4 separate regions of the Homo sapiens genome follow, and regions 2, 3 and 4 are each linked to region 1. The links are contacts of gene promoters, found by promoter capture Hi-C in blood cells and fetal thymus (Javierre and others, 2016). All regions are on one chromosome and are shown on one strand. The core of a region is centred on a gene start or on the middle of the fragment in contact, and the rest is flanking DNA. Distances in the headings are between cores, read along the strand shown. Region 1 holds the start of IL24 (interleukin 24). Region 2 overlaps MAPKAPK2 (MAPK activated protein kinase 2). Region 3 has its middle 9.7 kb from the start of IL19. Region 4 overlaps DYRK3 (dual specificity tyrosine phosphorylation regulated kinase 3).

The links. The method cuts DNA at HindIII sites, captures the fragments that hold promoters and counts their contacts. A CHiCAGO score of 5 or more calls a contact.
Region 2: a contact is called between a fragment that was not itself captured here and the fragment with the promoter of IL24 in region 1, in 7 of 17 cell types (activated CD4 T cells, total CD4 T cells, non-activated CD4 T cells and 4 more). The highest score is 10.3, in activated CD4 T cells.
Region 3: a fragment that was not itself captured here is called in contact with the fragment with the promoter of IL24 in region 1 in 7 of 17 cell types (non-activated CD4 T cells, activated CD4 T cells, naive CD4 T cells and 4 more); the score reaches 8.5 in non-activated CD4 T cells.
Region 4: a fragment that was not itself captured here is called in contact with the fragment with the promoter of IL24 in region 1 in 8 of 17 cell types (naive B cells, total B cells, activated CD4 T cells and 5 more); the score reaches 8.4 in naive B cells.

What each region holds. Positions count from the first base shown.
Region 1 is chr1:206,895,058-206,898,778 of GRCh38, forward strand. It overlaps IL24 (interleukin 24), which reads left to right and starts at 2,386. Exons shown (of 7, transcript NM_006850.3): 1 at 2,386-2,558; 2 at 2,674-2,819. The coding sequence starts at 2,776. LOC105372879 (a long non-coding RNA gene) reads right to left here and starts at 1,061. Exons shown (of 2, transcript XR_007066836.1): 1 at 937-1,061. The HindIII fragment of the contact is 4,835 bases long and covers 193-3,721 here.
Region 2 is chr1:206,693,113-206,696,843 of GRCh38, forward strand. All of the region lies in intron 1 of MAPKAPK2 (MAPK activated protein kinase 2), which reads left to right. It also overlaps the pseudogene RPS14P1. Among named protein-coding and RNA genes, the nearest start is that of MAPKAPK2, 10 kb to the left of the region's middle. The HindIII fragment of the contact is 5,635 bases long and covers 1-3,731 here.
Region 3 is chr1:206,759,406-206,762,647 of GRCh38, forward strand. No RefSeq gene overlaps it. Among named protein-coding and RNA genes, the nearest start is that of IL19, 9.7 kb to the right of the region's middle. The HindIII fragment of the contact is 945 bases long and covers 1,353-2,297 here.
Region 4 is chr1:206,651,345-206,654,624 of GRCh38, forward strand. It overlaps DYRK3 (dual specificity tyrosine phosphorylation regulated kinase 3), which reads left to right. Exons shown (of 3, transcript NM_003582.4): 3 at 1-3,280. Among named protein-coding and RNA genes, the nearest start is that of DYRK3-AS1, 17 kb to the left of the region's middle. The HindIII fragment of the contact is 765 bases long and covers 1,354-2,118 here.

The DNA.
Region 1 (3,721 bases), core at 1,136-3,635:
TTGTACATTTCTAACAAGGTCCCAGATAATGCTATCACTGCTGGCTCATGGGCCACACTTGGTGAGCAAAGCTGCAGGTCATCACATCCTCATGGTCTTATGAGGACTCTATTTCACAAGTGAGGAAGGTGAGCCTCAGAGGGCTCATATGTGGCTCGATCACCTTTTGAACCCAGGTCTGCCTGCCTCCAAAGCTTGTACTCATAACTAGATTCTCAACTGATGTTGGGCCAAGGTTCCTAGGTTCTCTCCTTGACCTTCCTTCTGAAGTAATAATGCTATGATAAGCTCATCGGAGGCTGAGGCCCAGGCACATGTTTGCCTGAACTATCCATGTTATATGATTCCTTCCTCAGACAGAGTGAGCTACTCACGATCCCAGGTGTACCCTGAGGCCAGCCAAGGTGTATCCATGACCTCATGCCTCTGTTCCAGCCTGCCCTTTAACAGCTCATCCCACCTGCCTGCCCTCCCCGCCTATCTGCAGACAGTAGTCTAGGATTTCAGCTGCCCTGGGGGCTCATTTTCCCTCTCAGCTTCCTGCTTTAGCTGTCTCCTGCCTCCCACTCACCTATTACTCCAGCACTCTCACCTGGTCTTCTTTTCTGTCTCATCACTGCCTCTTGACATCTTTATCTCATAGTAGTTAGTTAGGGGTTCTTGGTAATGCCCTAAATCCACATGGTGGGAAGGGGGGAGTGGGGGAAGAGAGTGCGCTGTGGGGCTGTGCCTACTTCTGGAGGGTAAGACTCGGGCCCTCCAGGAACAAAGGATTCAGGCTGGTGGCAGCTATAGCCAAGCAGACTGCTGGCCAGGGATTGCAAAGGAGTATTTTGTTTGCTTAAGAAAATAAACAACACTGAGTATGAGATGGAGGGAGGGGGTGTTGGTGCCAGAGAGATTGGGAAGAGTCTGCCAAGGGTGTGTTCTACTCACTCTCCTCTTTTCTTTCATCTCCACTGAGCTGGAGGCAGTTATCCTGTCCCCCACGTCACATTCCTACTCCCGTTTCCCATGCCTGGACCCAGGTTGGGCAAACTCTTCCTGTAAAGAACCAGACAGGAACTATTTTAGGCTCTGTGTGCCATATGGTCTCAGTCACAACTACTCATCTCTGCCTCTGTAGCACGAAAGCAATTAGCAACAATATGTCAACAAACATATGTGACCCCATGAAAACTTTATTTATTATGGATACGGAAACCTGAAAATAATGTCTTTCTTTTGATTTTTTCCCCAATCATTAAAAAACGTAAAAACTACTCTTAGGTCGCAAGGTTAAGCCATTCTCAGCTTAGCAGTGGCAGGCTGGATTTGGCTTGTGACCTACAGTTGGCCAATCCCTGATTCCCAAAATGTATTCCTCAGGGATGTGGGCAAATACTTATGGGAAATGCTGGATTAAACAGAGTTAAGAAGCATCAGACATTTCCAGGACGGGCTAGCACATGCCAGGGCTCTCTAACTGACCTCATTAGGATTCATCTGTTTCATGGAGGATCTTGCAAGACAAGAATTCCTCAAACCTAGAGTCTGAGGACTGTGCTTTGGGAAACACTGCTCTGCTTGATGCCCTCACTGGGCACATGGTAGAATCTAGAGCTGAGTGCCTTGCTAGCTGGAGATAGGGTCAGAGCTCTTGACTGCCCTGGCAGTCTTGACACATCACGCTGTCTGTGTCCCCTGAGTGGTTCAGAGCCACACAGGCCAAGACTAGCCCACCAGAGCACCAGGCCTCCCAGCTTTCTGGGCTTGTCCATGCGTACATTTCCTTATTCTTCCTGGTTTCCAGAACCTAAGGAGAGGCACATTTTGGTTGAGTGATTATAACCCTAGGGACCATGGGTAGCTGCATGTCAGGAAACACTCCTCAACTTCCTGGCCCTGATGGATTAAAGGAGAGGTACTTACAGGTTATTTCTTCGCTGTGGACTACTGTCCCAGCATGAATAGGGCATCATTATTGAATTATTTTGACAGGAAGGAGACTGGTGTATGCTGCACAGTAATAATGTATTTACATGTGTACAGAGTTTACCAAGCACCTCTGTGTTGTTTTTGCCTCTGTTTATTACACTTGCCCTTGGGGGGAGGTGGGACAAATTTTTTAAAAATTTATACATGCAGAGACTGCAGCGCAGAGAAGCTAAGAGACTTGCCCCTGCCCACACAGCCAGTGGTAGAGCCTGAACTCAAACCCAGGTCTCATCTCACCTCAGGGGCTGCTTTCCCCATCGCTGTATTGTCCTTAAAGTGATGGGTGACTAGGCAATGAAGTAATTCTCTAGGAAAGCATGACCAATTTCCCTTTCTCCACCTCCCTCTTTTTCCTCCACCCCTCCCCCATCAGCCCCCATATATATGCCCAAATCTCCACAAAGCCTTGCTTGCCTGCAAACCTTTACTTCTGAAATGACTTCCACGGCTGGGACGGGAACCTTCCACCCACAGCTATGCCTCTGATTGGTGAATGGTGAAGGTGCCTGTCTAACTTTTCTGTAAAAAGAACCAGCTGCCTCCAGGCAGCCAGCCCTCAAGCATCACTTACAGGACCAGAGGTGAGCATGGGGGATTCTTGGTTACTTTTTTTTGAAGGACTAGACCTCTGCTTTATTTGTGAAAAGGGGTCAAGGTGGGGACAGCAGAAGTCAATTTTTTTGAGTGTTGATGTAGGGACAAGACATGACTGTGATGAGGAGCTGCTTTCGCCAATTTAACACCAAGAAGAATTGAGGCTGCTTGGGAGGAAGGCCAGGAGGAACACGAGACTGAGAGATGAATTTTCAACAGAGGCTGCAAAGCCTGTGGACTTTAGCCAGGTGCGGTGGCTCACACCTGTAATCCCAGAACTTTGGGAGGCTGAGGTGGGCAGATCATTTAAGGTCAGGAGTTCGAGACCAGCCTGGCCAACATGGTGAAACCCTGTCTCTACTAAAAATACAAAAAAAAATTAGTTGGGCATGTGTTTTTGATATTTTCAGATACAAAAATCCCAGCTACTTGGGCGACTGAGGCATGAGCATCACTTGAACCTGGTAGGCAGAGGTTGCAGTGAGCCGAGATCATGCCACTGCACTCCAGCCTGGGTGACAGACTGAAATTCTGTCAAAAAAAAAAAAAAAAAAAAAAGCCTGTGGAGTTTGAAAGAACAGAATGAAAAGACATTGAGGGAGATGCTAAAGCATAGCCCCCGTCCCCCGTGACCCATAACCCAGGGGTCGCCGCCTCCCTAGCCCAGGTACCAGCAGAACCGGGTCTTCTCTGGTCTTCCTCCCGGTGTAGGGGTGGGAGGCAGTTTCTTTAGGTGTCAGACCAGTGCCTGCAGTAAGAAAGGTTCTTAAATGATTGTGTAAAGAAGTACGAAAGAAAGGGAGAAAGTAAGAAAGGGAGGGAGCGAGAGAGGAAAGAAGGAAGAAAGAAAGGTAAGGAGGGAGGGAGGGAGAGAGGGAGGGAAAGGACAAAGGGCAAAGAAGGCAGGGGGAAAGAAATTCTCTGCATCAGTTATAATAAATACATAATGGCGTTAGGTTCCCCAGCTTGGAGGCTCTTCACTCAGTCCTTCCCAACTGGCACTTCAGAGGAAGGCTTTAGAGATGATTCATCTGGAAATCTGATGCCTCTCTCTCATTTGGTTACTAAAAAAAGTGAATTTTTAGACTCAAGAGTGAGTGGTTAGTGGAGGTGGCATAGTCTGTGTGTGACCCTGACCTGCCCTCTGTGC
Region 2 (3,731 bases), core at 289-2,788, 200 kb before region 1:
GTTCGTTTGCTGCCATTTTAATGATCCACATTGTTAGGAGGCTCTCAGTACACACCGGACCTTAGCAGCCTGGCCTCCTGCCCAGGGCCCAGAACTGTTACTCAGCCCCTCTGCCGAACAGCTAAAAATAAACCTGCCACTGCTGCAGTCTCCCCTCACAGCCAGGCCCTGTTAGCTGTCCCAGTGCTTCCTGCCACACCGCTGACCTGTTTCTCTCACTTTCTGCTGATATTCTCCCTGCTTGCCCCTTTCTCTTCCAGCCTGAGCTTGGTAGGTGATTTGGGGCTAACTCACTCTTCTGAGTGCTGGGAGACGTGCTATGGTTTTTATGTCTCCAGGTGTCTAGATTTGTGTGTATGAAAGCTCCGTGAAGCTGTCCTGCTTATTTCCCAGTAGGGAAAGGGTTAGACAAAAAGGAGAGTGACCAAGCTCATCAGAGTGGATCAGACCTTCTACTGTGCTCGCCTCCAGCCCTGGCTTCCTCCAGTTTTACCTCCAAGCAGGCCTCTTTGCCAGAGTTACCTGGTTATGGTAACAGAGTTACCATAGTTATATGCTAGGACAGCCCCACATGGGCAGTCTGCCCCAGGCCTTCAACCCGACTGCCCTGTCACCGAGCATGCTACCTACCGTGTACTCCTGCCCTGTTGCTACGTTATATTCTCCACCTCCGCAGTGTGAGGCTTTGGGCTACCACATTCAAAAGTGTGACCTCATCTTGTCAGCGTCCAAGAATAACTGGGCCCTGGCTCTCAGGATCTCCTTCCTGAGTCAGGCCATGGCACCTCTGGCCCTTCCAGCTCAGCCACATGCAGAATGTCACCGAGTGCATGGGTTTCTTCTACCTCTTGACTGCAGTATTGATGTGTGTCCATGGAGGTGTGGCCTCTTCCTCTACTCCCCAGGGATCCTGGAGACTTGTGGAGCAAGATGAGGAAAGGGGCTCAGGTAGCTAGAATATTTGCTTAGCTGATAGATACTGGGCAGAGTCTGACATTGGCATTCTGTTCTTCAGCGTGGCGTTAGTATTCTTTCTGATTTTTTCTAATCCCTAGACAGGTGTTGATACTAATCGTGGCCTAGGAGGGCTCTATGTCTGCTTTCAGGAATTATGGTTTATTTGGGGGAAGGGGTGTATGGTGGAGAGTGATGGCAATGACAACCAAGACATAGGACTTGAGGAACCCACTGCCTTCAGCTAGAGTTACATACTCTGACCATGTGTCGATGGCCTCCTTCTCCCACCTCTCCCCTGGGGCCACATTTCCTCTGCAAGGAAAGATTTATCTGCCAAGGCCCATTGGCCTGTGCAGAGGAAGAGTTGGGCATAGTTGCTAAGTGTTTATTTTTAACTCTGACAGAAGGAGCCCCTGTCCTCAGAATAGCCATACCCTCTGTCTTTCCCTATCCCGACTGCCTTCCTTGGCTTCTGTGATTCCTAGAAGAAGGTTAGTAGGATTCTAAAGGCCAGGCTTCACGGGAGCTGGAGAAGGCTAGCTTCTCTAAGTGAGGAATCTGCAGGTTGCTCGTCATGCTTGGCTTCTGCAGAGCTCAAAGGGTCCTGCGGGGAGAGCCCTGGACACTAAAGGCCGTGTGTCTGGAACTTGGAGAATTCTAGGAATGCAGGTGACCTGATGAGGAGGCTGCATGTGCCCTGCAGCTCAGAGCAGCCTGGCTGCACAGCTGAGTTGGACAGCCCAGCAAGGGGTCATCCCATACCTTCTACATCCTTACAGGCACCCAGATCTCTGGCAGATGGGGAGGCCACAGGGAGAAAATGAGCATATGTAGTAACCTGCCCTGGAAACACTTGCGCTTGCAGACACGCCAAGTGCTGTCATTCCCTCTGACTGCCAGGCTCACGAGCATCATGTCCTTTCCAGCAGAGCCCACCTGCGACTCTTAGTGACTTCATACCCTTTGTGTTCTCTTCCCCTGATGTGCTTTAGTGACCTGTGCTCACAGAGAGGAGGAGGAAGGGTGGCAGTGCCCCCTCTCCTGGGTCTCAGACTTTCCTGACTTTATGCATTTGATTTGGCTACCTGGGCTCGGATACTTTAAAAGAAAATAAAATTAGGTTTGAGGTGTAACCAGAGAGAGAAGGAATAGAGAGTAGTAGGGGGTGGGATGGGTGGTTGAAACATGTGGCTAACTCTGAGAACCCTCAGCTATGGAAGGAAGGTCTTGCCCCCATGATTCTTCGGCGTGCAGTGGGGGATTAGTTTGCCCAGAGCCCAGCTCTGATCATGTAGCTTCCCAGCTTAAGCCCTTCAGTGGGTCTCTCTGCCTGCAGAATACATGAGATATCCACATCTTTCCCAGATCTGGCCCTGATCTGTTTTTTTTTTTTTTTTTGGAACACATGCTTTTTTTTTCTCCCCAGCTTAAGTGGCTTATATATGTTGTTTCTTTAACAGAACTGTGCTTTCCACCCCCACACCTTAGCATCTATCCATCTGCATCTTCTCTGTACCATGCCTGTCCCCCGTCCTGTCTATATCTACCTTTTCCACCCTGCACAGATGCTGCTTTTCCAGAGCCTTTCGCACCAAAAGTGGGTCTTCCCATCCTTCCCCATCAAACTTGCTGATACACTCTTACCTTTTATTTCTCTGTTTAAGTGCATTTCTCCATGTGCAAGGCATCTCTCTCTCTCTCTCTTTTTTTTTTTAACAGGAAGGTAATTTATTAACGGAAAATATTTGAGGAGTCCTGTGCACAGTGACCATGGCAACCCCCCTTCCTGCGGGTGCTGTCAGAGGGGTTGGGAGTGACGTCCTCAATCTGTCCGATCTTCATACCTGAGCGGGCAAGGGCCCTGAGGGCCACCTGGGCCCCAGGTCCAGGGGTCTTGGTTCTACTTCCTCCTATGGCTCGGAGTTCGATGTGTAGGGCAGTGATACCCAGCTCTGGGCCACATCCCGGGCAGCCAACATAGCAGCATGTGGTGAGGATTCATCTCACCTGCCTTCACCTTCATCCTACCAGTCACACGGCAGATGATTTCTTTGCCAGAAAGATCAGTGACATGGACAAAAGTGTCATTGAAGGATGCAAAGATATGGCAGACACCAAATACATTCTCTCCTTCAGCCACCTGAGGTCTGAGGCTGATGACCTGTTCTTCCTTCTTTTCCTTCCCCTTTCAAGGTGCCATTTCTGCATGTTGTTTCCAGACTCCGCACAGGAACGCAAGGCACCTCTTTAGATATCGGATTGGACTGTAAATCCCCTGAAAACCTACATCTTCATTATTTTTGTGTCCTCTTATTTTCATGTAGTGACCGTATGTCCTCATTAAAAAACTCAGGCCAGGCATGGTGGCTCACGCCTGTAATCTCAGTGCTTTGGAAGGACAAGTGGGAGGATCTTTTGAACTCAGGAGTTTGATATCAGCCTGGGCAACATAACAAGACCCCATCTCTACAAAAAATTAAAAAGGTTAGCCAGCTGTGGTGGCACATACCCATAGTTTCAGCTACTCAGGAGGCTGAGGTGGGAGGATCACTTGAGCCCAGGAAGTCACGGTTACAGTGAGCTATGATCATGTCAGTGCACTCCAGCCTGGGTGACAGAGCGAGACCCCGTCTCTGAAAAAAGAATCCTAGAGTATTTTGGCACTGTGCATTATATGCATTATACTTAGCTGCTGAATAAAGGTGTGATAACTGAGTAATAGTGGATGCCACCGATATTAAATGTGATGTACTAGAGGTAATCCTCAGAGTCAG
Region 3 (3,242 bases), core at 575-3,074, 140 kb before region 1:
AAATTTTTGACCATAGCCTACCATCCCTGAGTGATCAGACCCATGCCCACTTCTTCAAGCTCGTCTTAAATCTCTCCCCATCACATATAATGTCCCTTACTCTCTGTGATTCATCTTTTAGTTTCTCAAAGAGTTTAAGTTTCTTCTTGCCTCAGGGCCTCAGAACATGAGATGGGATGGAGAAGTCAGAGAGCTGTGAAGAGAGCCCAGGGTCCAGCTGGGTCGTGAATTGGTACAAATTTACCTTTGCTCCAGAGATAAACCCCTTCTCCCCCGTTCTTTGCTGTTCTTAGTGGTCTTTAAATCTGCAAAATGCTCTGCTTCTTACCACCTCTCTCTTCATTGGGCCAGCTCCTGCTCATCCTTCATGTCCAGTTGAATGTTACCATCTCATGAAAGCATCCCCTAGCCCTGAGTCTAGGTTAGTTGCTTTCTGAAATCTCACACTTCTAATTAATAGAAATAATCATGATTATAATAACATTATATAGTTAACTTTATAATATCTGTTTCCTCAACTAGCTATTAAATCCGTGTAGCTGGAGCCAGGATTGGTGGGAGGCTGAGGAAGGAGGATCACTTGCACCTAGGAGTTCAAATCCAGCCTGGGCAACATAGTGAGACCCCCATCTCTATTTAAAAAATTAAAAGAAATCCACGAGGGCAAGGATTATGTCTGTCTTATTCACTGCTTTTTCTTCGACACCCAGCATAGTACCTGGAGCATAATAAGTTCTGAGTGAATAAGTGTGTATCTTGTAAAACCTCTGGCTTGGCTTGCCTCCAAGCCAGAGGTTTGGAGACTCCTTTCCAAAAAAAAAAAAAAAAAAAAAAGAAAAAGAAAAAGATGTAATAGATGACTGCCAAATAGAACTCTGATTGACATGAGGCAACCTGTCTTTCCACACAAAGTGGATGACTCCATCTTTGCAGATTATGGAGAAGCAATCTGCTTCTCTTTCGATTTGGGTGTCATGATCATCAGACATGAATGTGGAGATTATTATGTAGGGAGATTCAATTAGTTACTTAATGCCACATACTGACCAAAGTTACTAATTCAGCCTTGGTGAAGAGTATATAATAGGGTCAGTTTGCGGAAATAACATCCCACTTCCCTAAGTAATGCAGGAAGACTTCTTTAAATAAGCATAAGATTCCGGGTTGTATACTGGACACACAATGAGCTCTGTTATGCAATGGCTTCATGACCTTGGAAAATATTTTTTTCTTGAATAATAGTAAGGGAGAATAGAATAGTTGGCTGAATTCTCATATTTCATATTGCTAGCAGATCAGCAGCAATGATGGAGAAAGCATATTTGAGCAAAGTCCAGTGCTGTAATCGAATAAGCTTTCTACATGGTTGATCTAATCTATACTTAATAGTATGTGTAGCTATTATTGCTCTAAATGGCAGTTAGGCATGTATATTAAGCTGTTCACTGGATTTATAGAACTCTAGGGGCTATAATTCATAATGTGTATTTTTTTACTTCACCAAGCCAAGCATTTCTGAGGTCACCTTCAGGAAATTGAAAGTGGGCACTCAAAAATGGTTGCTTCCTTTCTTTCCCTTCCAAGTGCAGGGACAAACCATTTACTCTTTCCGCCCAGAAATGGTGGTAGGGAGGCAGAAGGCACTGTAAGGAAAAGCCCAGGTCTATGATTGGTACAAGCGCAAGGCATGTCCAGCTATTTTCCATGGTGTTGGCACCTATTGTTCCATCTGGTTGGATGGGAGCATTTTCCCAAATGTCTGCGATAGAGCTGCTTTTATTAAGTATTTACTCTGTGCCGGGAGACTTTTATGTATTCAAGCCTTTATTTTTTCTGACGACACCTTGAAAGAGTAATTATTCTCTCCATGTTACAGAGGAGAATACCAAGCTAGGGAATGTCTCAAGGTCATGTAGCTGAGAAGTAAGTGGAAGCCTGGGCTCAGACTCCAGAGGCTGTGCATGTCACCCTGTGCTGTAGAGTCAGAGGTACGCTGTGTCACTTTCCTTAGGTCTTTTATGTCCCCCTTGTCCTCTCCAGCCAGGGTGCCAAGGAGGCCTCTGGAAGCTAAAGGCTCAATGGCAGCTCAATTCTGCTGGGGGAGGGAGCTGTTGATAATACACAGATAAATGGGAACTGCCTGGCAAATTAGGAGTGCAGATGCTGTAGACACAGGAATGAGTCCTGGAGGAGGATTCCAGTGGGAATAGGCCTGGTGGACTGGAGGAGTCAGTGGCTGGAATGAGGAACTACAGGCTCGAACAGAATTTAGAGGTCATCTAGTTTAGCGACTTTTAAGCTTTTAATTGAAGGACTGCTGCTATTAAATTTCTCCAGAGACTCTCTGTTTTAAAATGTTTTGGCTGCTTAAAAACTTTTTAAAGAAATAATTCCATTTTCTGATTGCCTTAATCAAAGATGTAATAGATGGGCTGGGCATGGTAGCTCATACCTGTAATCCTAGCATTTTGGGAGGCTGAGGCAGGTGGATCTCTGGAGGCCAGGAGTTCAAGACCAGCCTGGCCAACATGGTGAAACCCCGTCTCTACTAAAAATACAAAAATTAGCTGGGCGTGGTGGCGGGCACCTGTAATCTCAGCTACATGGGAGGCTGAGGCGTAAGAATCGCTTGAACCTGGGAGGCAGAGGTTACAGTGAGCTGAGATCGTGCCACTGCACACTCCAGCCTGAGCGACAGAGCGAGACTCCTTGGCAAAAAAAAAAAAAAAAAAGAAAAGAAAAAGATGTAATAGATAACGGCCAAATAGAACTCTGATTGGCATGGGACAAACTGTCTTCCCACACAAAGTGGATGACTCCATCCAAACAGGGAGAAGTGCTTTTTAATGAGCTTGTGCAGACTTATGAGAGGAGGTGTTGCTAAATGCACAATTTCCATGAGGCTTTTTCAAATTTTGGAAATTGCTCAGACTACCCCCATCACCTGCTATAAGCGCTGTCACTCTTGTCCCCAGGAGCGACTGGCTCCACTGTAGTGGCCACAGAGGTGAATGGTTTTCCCCAAGGGAAACCATTGATTCAGACCTATTTTCTTATTTATTGTTGAGGAAACTGAGTCCCAGACAAGTTAAGTAAAATCTTTGAAGTCACCAAGTGAGTTAGTGCCTAGAAGGGGTATTGAATAATGGAACCCATGTGTCACCTGGGACCCACTAGCCCCTGAAGATATGCAATTGACTGGTTCATTCTGTAGCCAGTTCTGTCGCTTATGAAAGTTGAAA
Region 4 (3,280 bases), core at 486-2,985, 240 kb before region 1:
CTAAATCATCATGGCCAGGAAGATGAAACACCTTGAGAAATGGGAACATCTCTTCACTGTGTTCTTGGATCAGCCTTCTTTCAACTACCAAGAAATGGATGATTTCTCTGCCAACTCCAGGAAGTAGTACAGCATGATTGAATCCTTCTTCAGTGAATCTTTTCATTGTAACTTAGGGTGTAAAAGCTCATATCTACTCAAAAAACTCAAATCTACTCTTTCAGTAGATATGAGCTTACATTGACTTATGAATGGTTTTCCTGTAGGCCCAACAGTGTCATGACCCTCCAGTTGAAACAAAGCATGAGTTATTTTTATATCGAGTCCTTGAACTGCTAGCCAGGTAGATGTTTCCTTGAAGTCCAGAGCAGGATCCAAGTCAGATGAAGGAGGTGGCACACCTGGCTTAACTGCAGATCAGGGAGCATTGAACCTCTACAATTTGCTGCATTGGATTTCTGCATGGGTTTCTCACTGAATAGTAAATTAGAGAAAATGCTACTTTTACTATTTTGCATTTTATATCAACATTAGCAGCCTGTTCCCACTCAGGTGCTGTCCAAGGCACATGTTTCCTTGGGATGTTTGGACAGAATGATCTGGCTTGATGTATTTCTTGGGCTCTGGTACCACATCATAGAGTTGGTTAAATGTAGCCAGCAGCAGTGTCAAGACAGCTGACACTGTCTTCCAAGAGTGAATGCATTGGCCTTTGGAACTGCTGCTAAAGCCATGTGTGGGGTGGCGAGCACATCTTTAGGTGGCAGCAAGGCTATATCTGATTGACACAGATCTGAAGTCTCTAACACCATATTGCTGTTGTCCTGAATTTTCTAACTTGGAGAAATTTAAGGATCTCCTGCATTATCTAGGCAGAGCATATGTTGAGGTTGTTTTGCCAGTTGTTATCAGTGTTGAAGAACTGCTCCTGTAAGCAAACTGTTAAAAGCATTACTACCCCATATGCATCTGATGTACACTGTGTTTTGGTGTTTGTGTTTTTAGTGAGAGTTCTAGCCAGTACTGTGCCTGAACTTGGGAGAGAAAGGGGCCTGTGGCTGAGGTTGGTGCGTGCTCTATTTCTGTGTATCGAATGGACTACAAGGTTACTGAAACTGGGCTAAGGGAAAGTGTATAGACAACTCATTACACTGTAGACAGATTTTAGAAAGCTACAGGAAGGCAAATGGATGTTTCTGCCTCAATTTGGCAACCGAGAGAGTGATGCAGAGCAGAGTCATTGAAGTTGGCATACCTGTCTTCTGCAGGCCAATTCAAGTTTGAGGAGAGTGGGCTGCTTAAAAACATGGTGCTCGTCCACATGGATTTGAGGAAGTTTATGGTTGGGTTTCAAGCTTAGGGACAAGTTGTGGTTTTTAGAGGCAGTAACTCTATGCCACCTTATTGGCCACTGTTAAAAGTTTCACTTGGATCCCTGCCCAGCCATAGCAATGAGTGACTGAATTGGATCAGAGTTAGTACAGAAATTCAGACTGTCTCTTCCTCAGTTACTGGATTGTTCTTTAGCCATTTTTCTTCTAGTCATTTCAGTCAAACTGGTTAGGTTAGGTGACTTACTGAGTTCTAAATTGACAAATTTTAATTTCCAAGTTGTTTCTGACACGGTGAGAGTTGGGTTAGAATTTTTATTTCATTCCCCAAGTCATTTTTTCTTTTTCTTTATTTTTTCTTTTTGAGACAGAGTCTCGCTCTGTCGTCCAGGCTGGAGTGAAGTGGCGCAGTGTTGTCTGCAGCCTCAACCTCCCAGGCTCAGGTGATTCTCCCATCTCAACCTCCAGAGTAACTGGGACTACAGTCACGTGCTACCATGCCTGGCTAATTTTTTGTATATCTGTAGAGAGGGGGTTTCACCATGTTGCTCGGGCTGGTCTTGAACTCCTGGGCTCAAGTGATCCATGTGCCTTACCCTCTCAAAGTGCTGGGATTATAGGTGTGAGCGACCGTGCCCAGCCTCATTTTTTCTTTCAATATGGAAAATTGGCTAATCCACCTAATACCTGCTCATCTTCTAGTATTCTATCCTACCATCTACCCTCAGAGTTATTGATGTACTCTTTCATCATGTGCTATCATGATTTCTCCTTAGATTAGAAAGTAAGCTTCAAATGGGAGTGTGTCTTCATATTGTTCTGAATTAACAGATTTTGATGCCCGCTGATCATGTGCAGATGATGGAAGCTCATTTCCTTCCATGAACCAGGAGCATGCTCGCCTCTTCTTTTAAGTTGACCCACACAATCTCTGATGTCTTCTTTTTGGGAAAGGGTAATGAGATAAGGATTAAGGACATTTTCTTCTGGTCCAGTGTTAGATACAGTTACCTTGATAATAATGAAAAAAAAATGAATACCACCAAAACCTAACTATGATGTAAGGATTCTGCTTCTGCCCCACAGGGGCTCTGAAAGAGTCTAGCCTGGATCTTCTTTCCCAGAGGAAGTTTGACTTATGACCATATTAGTATGCTTTATTCCTTGGTGTTTAAGGGAGTTGGGGCAGACAGGTTAGCTGGCTAATGTCATTACAATTTAGTTTTTGTGACAATCTGTTAAGAAGGGGGCTTATTGCATAATCAAAAAAGAACAATAAAAAAATAAAAATTTCTACTGTGAAACTATTTCAATCTGTAGCAGCTGGTCATGTTAAAACACTTTCTGTTTTGCTTAATTCGTAACTAGGCATAATTAAAGTTAAATGCTAAATTTTAGGTAGCAGCTGATAAATGGTTCTAAGCTTTCCTGACAGAATACTCCTACTACTTTGGTGAATCATGGAAAACTCTTTCTCCTTTATTTTTAATTATTTCTTTTCCATCTGTTATTGATGTCATCAACACGGAAGTTGGAAAGGTGACAATGATTGTTCTAGACTGCCTCTGTAATGCTTTTTCTCCTCTGAGAATTAAAAATACATACTTACACCTTGAGCCAGGTAGAATTGCCAGAACATGTTTTCCTCCGTGTCTTCGGTCTAGATGACCAATCTGTAGAACGCTATAACTTACTATGCGTAGAGCAGCGGCAGGCATTCATGCTATGGAAAACCTGGAGTCAGTACAAATAAGGAGTAAGAAAAGGCCAGGGATTGGCAAATCAAAGAAGAGTTCTCTTCTGCCAGGGATTAGCCTCCTAGTTTTAAATATATTTTTAATATCCCCATTTTAACATACTCCATTTTCACCTTCAACCTATCCTTCCTGAAGCCCAAACTTTTAAAGAATTTACTTCCAGACCTGGCCTTCAGCCTAATATGATTAGGG